2 separate regions of the Homo sapiens genome follow, and region 1 is linked to region 2. The links are contacts of gene promoters, found by promoter capture Hi-C in blood cells and fetal thymus (Javierre and others, 2016). All regions are on one chromosome and are shown on one strand. The core of a region is centred on a gene start or on the middle of the fragment in contact, and the rest is flanking DNA. Distances in the headings are between cores, read along the strand shown. Region 1 has its middle 110 kb from the start of CYSLTR2. Region 2 holds the start of MED4-AS1 (MED4 antisense RNA 1).

Region 1 (3,952 bases), core at 1,383-3,882, 690 kb after region 2:
GCAGTGCAATGCAGTAGCCCTGATCGTCTTGCTTCCTGGCATCTTTCTGTTCCAGTTCCAATTGCTATATATCTCTATCAGTGGCTAAACTTTGCTGGGCATTAGAATGTTTTCAAAAGTCTTGATTTCCAAGTCACATTCCAGACTGATTAATTCAGAATCTCTGGGGTGACAACTGGATCTCAGTAGTTTTTTAAGAAACTCCTCAGGTGAGGTCAATGTGTCACCAAGTTTGAAAATCACTGATAGTCCTTTCCCCGTTTTTGGAAGTCATTTGAGCAGGTCTCTGTTGCAACCAGTAGATCCTTATGCATCACTCTTCCCAAAGGGACTTTGACACTTCTGTGTGTAAGATTTTCCCCGGAGCCTGAAAGCTTAAAGAGATAAATAACTCCTCCTTTCTCAGGCCCAGTCCCAAGCCGCAAGGCTACTTTTGCCAGTAGCGTGCCCCAGCAAGATAGCAGAAGCAGGAAAAGAGCCGCTGGAAGACACTTACCCAGGTGGAAAGACACGTACACCTGAAGATCGAAAAAGAGGCCATCCGGGTACAACGTAGCAGTTACTTCAGACTAGGACACTTCCTGTTTACAGGAGACTCTAAAGCCTTTGCCCTGTCCTCACTTGGGGCTGAGGCCTAGTCAGCCCCCCTGCACCCAGGCGCTCATTAAAACAGCATGTTACCCCACACCGCCTCGTGTTATCTTTTGGCGTGCTCTTGGGGTTCAAACCGATACAAGAACCTTACACTGTGGTGTTCTGGATGGTAGGATATGATCTATGACAGTCTTTTAATTGACTGGCTGTCATAATTCTTATCTAGCAAACTCTCCTGCATTTTGTCTGACATTGTAAATAGTGAGGTAAATAGTGAGGTACATTACTGGCCAATTTCATGTGCTATTTGAATACCTTTTTGCATGAAAATAAGAATTATGTAAAACAGAATCTTGTTTCTGTTCATCCTTCCTGCCCCATTCCCTTTGGTGCTTCTGTGGATGGGATGAGTCATTCTCGGCTACAACTGGACCAGAGAGTTTATTTTAAAATACACGACAAAAGTTGATTGTGCATTTTTTCTTCTGGCATTTCTTCATATTGGTTTCAGCCTGCTCATTTTCTACCATGTTTTTTTCCCTCTGCCTGGATATAAACTTTCCTGTTCCAGCAGCTGCTGGCAGATGCCTATAGTTTATAAAATAGTACAAAAGATGTAAGAACTATATCTGAGAATGGCCACTTTTAATGACAAATTAATTTGTGCTCTGGATAATTTTTTTTATTAAATGGGCACAGAGGAACAGGCTTTTCTGCCCACTAGGTGACTTACTCCTCTGTTTGCTGGAAGAATCATTGATCATCTGCTGTTATTAGCAGTATCCACCTAACCCAGCACCTGAGTACAACTTTTAGAAATGAGGTTAAATAATCTGATTCCGGAGAGACAAATCGTTTAGGGTCAATAGTGACAGATAGGACCTATTTTAATCTGATTCCAGAGAGACAAATTGTTTAGGATCAATAGTGACAGATAGGACCTATTTCCAGCCAGAAACCACAATTGTGATTTCCTCAGTACTCCCTTGAAAAAGTAACAAAGAGCAAACATGAACTAAGCATTTTCCAGACAGATTTGTAGAGCTGGGGTTATTTACAGCGTTCCAAGTTCCAGTCTGCAATGAACATTAATAATTCTTGATTTCTTTAGTGAGTCCAGTGCCCTTCTTTAGTGAGTCCAATGTCCATTTGAACCACAGGAGATGTCAGCCACAGGAGAGACTGTAAGAATGTCGGGCCAAATATTTTAGAGATGAAAGATTAATGCTCACCAGTGTTAGAACACTCCCAGCTCTTTCTATCTTTGCTTTTCCACCTGCTCTTCTTCCCTGCCTGGTGAACTCATCCTCATCCTTCAAGGTCCAGCTCAAGAGATACTTCTGTGAAGGTTCCTCTGACTTCTCATATCGGGAGATGAGAGCCCTGGACATAATGTTATTGTGTTTATTGTTCTCTTGAGGTCACTTAGCCATGGCCTAGCTTTCTCACTAGACTAAAAACCCCTTAAGGTGAGACTGTCTCTCTTATTTGTCCCTCTCTCACAGCCTATAGAAGTTCCTGATGACACATAGCTTGTACTCAATCAATAGATGGTGAATTCAGAAGCCTATGTAAATAACACTGGGGGGATAGACAGGAATCAGCATTTCTTAAGGATGCCCCATGTGTCCAGCACTTGCACATATTATCTCATTAAATCTTCTCAACAACCTTCCAAGATAAATATAAATATGATTATTGGGACTCAGAAGTAGTAAGGATCTTAATAAGACCCTTAGGTAATAAGAGACAGGGCTGAAAGTCAAACCTGGATCTCTTTGACTCCCAATCACATTCTCTCTCCACTCCACGGTAAGCTGAGTTACCTTAAAAGCTTCCTGTAAAAAAGAACAATATATTCATTTGCCTTAAATAGAACATGCTAACGAGCACAAATCACTTCATTTGGAAATTGCCATTCTGAAGATATTAACTTAATTTTAGTCTCTCATATGCAAAACTTTTGAAGAGTGTAAGTATCCTTAAGTGCACAGGGAAGTGGTTCTTTCAGGAAAAATTTGAGTATGGCCCATGCACATATTCAGTGTCATCATTAAATTAAAAGTATTAAGTGGTTTCATTACATAGGAATCCATGTCATGGTAAGTTTCTTTCAGAGGACCAGTTTAGAAATGCAGCCCAGGATGTGTCAGTACCTCTCAAAAGGAGAAACATCCTACAGTAATAATAACAAAGTGATCTCAACCTAGCAAAGATTATAATAGAATAGCCCCATTTATAGATAAGCTTAGATCTTAGAGAAGGAAGGTGAGGAGGAGTAGGAGTCACCTTTCATCAGCACTTACTATATGCCAGGGACTGTGCTAAGTATTACTGGCCTCAGCTCGATTCCCTGCAAGAACTCCATGACATAGACACTTATCCTCATTTTGAGTATAAAGAAGCAGGGGTTTAGGGAGGTTAAATGACTTCTCTTAGTCCCACTGCTTGTAAATGACTCTTGCAGTCTTAGACTGACACCAAAATTTAAGCTTCTCTACTAACACCAAAAGACAGTAAAAATAGTGGGGGTGTTAACTGTGACAGCCCTTTTAAAATACATTGTCAGCATCTATGAAAATTTAAATGTGCATACCCTACAACTCAAAAATTCTACTTCTTAGTGTTAGCTCAAGAAAAATTCTTGCACATGTGTACAAAATTGTTTGTGATAGCAGAAAACTGGAAACAATTTTTAGGTTTATGTCCTTCCAAAGGAAAATCACTTTAAAAAGTGATACTGTATCCATGCTATGGAATAATGCATACCTGTCAAGTTCTCAAAGACATAATGTTGCTGTAGAGGTAGCAGATGGTAGTATGATACAATAAAATACTACACAAAATCCACATCTTAAAACATTAGCATATATGCATATATGTATATTTGCAAAATTGATGGAAAGAGAATGGAAGGATACAGACCAATCTAATAGCAGTGGTTACCTTCATTGTTGGGGTAGGAAATGGACCAGGATTGCAGGGAGTGGGCAAAGGGAATTTGAGCCTTATTTGTAATGCAAAATGAATGCTTCCTTCCTCCTTTTCTCCCTCTCTTCTTCCTGGTTCAGTTTCAAACCTCATTCTACCATGAGCATATCTGATTGGCAGACTCTAACCCATATCCAGAAGCCTAACTACAAGGAAGTCTGGAAATGTCAGTTTTAGCTTTCTACCCTCCCCTTGCTATCATAGAAAAGGGTTGGGCTGCATGCTGAGCTCTCAATACACACAATAATAATTCAGGCAATAAATACTTTGGCCAAATTTCCAAATAAAATCAGGTTAAAGGAAAATGATAGAATTGTGAATCACATGGATTTTTATATAACTTCTTTCTCTATGAAGTCAACTATAA
Region 2 (4,383 bases), core at 1,090-3,589:
CCAACACTTTGGGAGGCTGAGGAGGGTGGATCACGAGGTCAGGAGATCAAGACCATCCTGGCTAACATGGTGAAACCCCGTCTCTACTAAAAATACAAAAAAATTAGCCAGGCGTGGTGGTGGGCACCTGTAGTCCCAGCTACTCAGGAGGCTAAGGCAGGAGAATGGCGTGAACCCAGGAGGTGGAGCTTGCAGTGAGCCGAGATAGAGCCACTGCACTCCAGGCTGGGTGACAGAGCAAGACTCCGTCTCCAAAAAAAAAAAAATTCAGAAATATATAGACTTATGATATTGACTTAGTACTGATAGAATGTATATTTGTGTAATTTTCAGGGGAAAAGTTTGGATTATTTCTGATAGGCTGGATAATGACCCCCTTTCCCCAAAGATGTCTAAATCCCAATCTACAGAACCTATGAATGTTGTTTTGTTACATGGCAAGGAAGAATTAAGGTTGCAAACAGAATAAAGGTTGCTAATCATCTCACTTTAAATAAGAAGATTATTCTGGGTTATCCAGTGGGCTCAGAATGATCACAGGATCCTTTAAATATGGGACAGGTAGGCAGAAGAGCATCACAGTAATGCAGAATGAGAAACACTCACCAACCAGGGGCCTGGAGCAGGACCAAGGGCGGCCTCTAAAACCTGGAAGACACAGGGGACAGATTCTCCCCTATGGCCTCCAGGAAGGAATGCAGCCCTGCTCACACCTTGATTTTAGGTGAGACCCACTTCACATTTGTGATGTACAAAACTAAGATAAATTTGTGTTGTTTTGAGCCAAGTTTGTGGTAATTTGTTACGGCAGCAACTGAAAACTAATACAGTATTAAAGAATTTGAAAAACACAATCCTTTTGAATCTACCCTAAAGATTTGGTGATAAAAACAGGCAGTTACATTATGGCACATACCACAATAAAATTTTAGCCATTAAAGTAAATCTTTCAAGAATGTATACACATGGATCAATATTCCTAGTATACGGACAAGGCAAGGTTAAAATTAGATATTGTGTTAGTCCATTCCTAAAAATAACCCTGGAGGGAAAGACATTCAAACATTGTATGTCCTTAATTCTAGATGGTGAAAATATAAGATTAATCTCCTATTTTCCAATTTTTCTAGAGATCGAAAATAATCAAAAGGAAAAAATGATGGAAAAATGGAATTCTCAGTTCATTTGAAGAATACAGATTAGCAATTAAAAAATACAGCAGTATCTCAGGAAATAAACATTATTCTCATTTTACAAAAAAGTGTATGTGAACTTTAAAAAAATCTACACTACAATATGAATTGATATTATCTCTGGGTAGAATGCTAACAATTTTATTTTCTCCTTTACTGTATTCACTAAATGTTTCACATTAAATGTTGTATTACCTTTGAAATCAGAAGATACATTGTCTAAAACTGATACATCAAGAAATAGTTGTATAAGCATATTACCTAAACACAGAGGTTACCAACAGAAATTAAAAGTGGTTAAAAATGACTCCTGGGGAACTGTAAGAAGAGGAAGGTGAAGGGAAGAAATGGTTGCTTTCCATTCTAAATCTTCACACAATCTATTCTTAAAATCAGACAAGGCTGTGGTAAATTTTTTCAATTATTAAAAAAAATTATTTCTTCTAATAGGAATAGGCCTTTGAGAACCCTATTAATTGTAATAGGTTTCAATTCAGTTAGTCACTCAAGTATTATAAAATGCAACTGGATTTACAGAAATAATTTCCTACCTACACTGACAGTATATTTAAACTAAAAAAAAAGCATACAATGTACAAACAAATTTATTTACAAAAATTACAATTACAAACTGTACAAATTGAGACAATTTCCCATGCCTCCAACAGAAGCCAAGAGCCTTTACTGTCAAATGGCAGTTTTTGTTACTTTTAAATGACACACAAAAAGAAATATGATGCCTATTCAGTCATCCACTGCCAGTTTAAAAATGCTTTTCTAAATAATTCCAAGAAGCCTATTAGTGATATGTATATGGATAATTTCCCTCAACTCTATTTCTAGAATGGCTATGTACAAATCCAGCAAAACTGGAACAGAACAGGGTAAGAAAGCACATAGCAACTGCTTTTTCAACAGTAAATTTTGACTATTCCCCTAAATATCTACCTAGTGGCTTAAAACTAAAACTATGGTCTTTGGCTTTAAAAAGAAAGTCAAAAAATTTTGACTTTTAATGACTGCACAATTCTACCAAAGCCAGTGTTTACCTGGGTATTTTTTGTCACCTGTAGTTTACATTTCCCTGCTACTGTTAAAGAAACAGAATTCTACAGTATTCAATTCTGTATATTGTCTTTTAAGGTTTTTCAATCAGACTCACTACTACTGCTTGAGGAGTCCGTTGACATAATCTCTACATCATCTTCATTTTCTTTATTATGCCCAGGAGGTTCCAACAAAAAGTCACTACTATGATTTGGTGGTAACATATTCATCGACATGTCATTTGACTGCCATGGATACTGTGGAGCAAGGACATCTGGAGAAAAAAAGAAGCATAGATAAGAACAGCTCTATCTGTAATTAATCTAGTTCTTACTTTTCCCTTTATGCAACAATTTGAAGTATTTTTTTTAATTTTACTTTTTTCTCTTCTTTTTTTGACACAGGGTCTCATTCTGTCACCCAGGCTTGAGTGCAGTGGCACGAATACATCACTGAAGCCCTGACCTAGGCTCAAGCAATCCTCCTGCCTCAGCCTCCTGAGTAACTGGGTTACAGGTATGTGCCACCATGCTTGAGTACTTTTTAAAGTTTTTGTAGAGATGAGGTCTCACTATGTTAACCAGGCTGGTCTCCAACTCCTGGGCTCAAGCTATCCTGCTACCTCAGCCTCCCAAAGTGTTGGGATTACAGGCATAAGCTATTGTGCCAATTTTTTTAAGACTAGGAAAAAAATACACATTTAGCCAAATTAATAAAAATCAAATTTATCAAGGAAAAGTTGATATTTTAGCAACTGGGGACTTTTTTAAAAAAATCATACTACTCTGTAAGAAACTATTTAGTCAGTTGACATAATTTTTCTTTTGTAAGACATTTGTAATTACAAATTTTTCCTGTATCTATGTATCTATTATATGCATATATAATACATACTTATGTATACTAGGTTATGTAGATTATTCTACATATTATAAACAAGTAATAGGTACTTTAGTATTATAATAGATTTGAATGATTTCTTGATAGAGGAACTGCTATTGTAAGTGACTCTCATCAAAGAGAGGTTGATTAGCAATGTATGCATATGAAATACCTTAAAAAAGGGCCCAAGTTACATTTAAAGTCTGTATTTCTGAAGCAAAGGGACAGAGCACATAAACAGGTATAGTTCAAGACTCAAATAAAGAAGGCAGATTTTTAAAGGGTCAAAAGAAAGAGTTATGGTATTAACTAGAAAGGTATGCCAGTTAGCCTCAAATCTACCCTTCTCTCTGGCCCCTGAAACCATTTCTCCTTTGCCAGCTGCCACAATTAAGTTTTGTCAGTAGAGGGCACAGGTGGGACTCCACTAGCAAACAAGTTTCACTTCCTGGATCAGGTGGTTTTGTCTCCTTTACTGCTGTGATGCCTGGTTGGTGTGCAGGACATTAAGTGGTGTTCACCACAGCAACTTTCGGTGGCGCCTCTAAAGGTGGTTTCCTAGCAGGTTTCACCAGAATCCCAAAGGGCAGCTTCCCAGCAAGTCTCCCTGGAACCCCAGTGGGTAATTTCCTGCTTGCCAGCTCTGGCCTCTGATGCCTCATCTAACTTCTCTGCCATGGAGTGGGCCACATTACACTGCACCCTCTCCAATGACAGCACCATGATATGAGAGTATCGGCCTTGGGATGGAGCTGGGGAAGACTGTTTTTAGGTCTGTCCCTTCCTTGGTCCAAAATGTGGCAGTGACTCCCCATATCTGTTTTTCCTGTACTTTTAAAACATGAGAAATATGAGGTGATATCCAAGGATATCACAGTTGAGTTCCCCTGGTTGTACTTTAGGTAGCTAACAAAAATGATGCATACAAAGCATTATTAATGACACAGGGACAGCCTTATGATGTAACATTAAGCAAAAAATGTATAGGGGAAAAAAGGAAACAGGCTAAAATATTTAAAGTGACTGCCTCAGAAAGGGTATATTTTTTTCCTTTTTTAAATGCCTTTTTCTACTTCCCAAATGTTCTACCACATCAAAACAAAAGTCACCTACAAACTATAAAAGATGAGGAATAATATAAAACAAATATATATAAAAATAGCACAAACCTATGAAAAACTTGAGGAAAACTGAAGCTCAGAATGAACTGGGTCTCACAGAAATACTATTTTATAAAGTTATAAAAGTTTATAAAAAGCTA

The links. Contacts are between HindIII fragments. The CHiCAGO score rates a contact against its expected background, and 5 or more counts as called.
Region 1: a fragment that was not itself captured here is called in contact with the fragment with the promoter of MED4-AS1 in region 2 in 3 of 17 cell types (total B cells, fetal thymus and naive B cells); the score reaches 7.0 in total B cells.

The regions. Positions count from the first base shown.
Region 1 is chr13:48,760,423-48,764,374 of GRCh38, forward strand. No RefSeq gene overlaps it. Among named protein-coding and RNA genes, the nearest start is that of CYSLTR2, 110 kb to the left of the region's middle. The HindIII fragment of the contact is 413 bases long and covers 2,427-2,839 here.
Region 2 is chr13:48,074,798-48,079,180 of GRCh38, forward strand. It overlaps MED4-AS1 (MED4 antisense RNA 1), which reads left to right and starts at 2,340. Exons shown (of 3, transcript NR_046511.1): 1 at 2,340-2,554; 2 at 2,645-2,756. It overlaps MED4 (mediator complex subunit 4), which reads right to left. Exons shown (of 7, transcript NM_014166.4): 7 at 927-2,514. The coding sequence ends at 2,342. The HindIII fragment of the contact is 10,244 bases long and covers 1-4,383 here.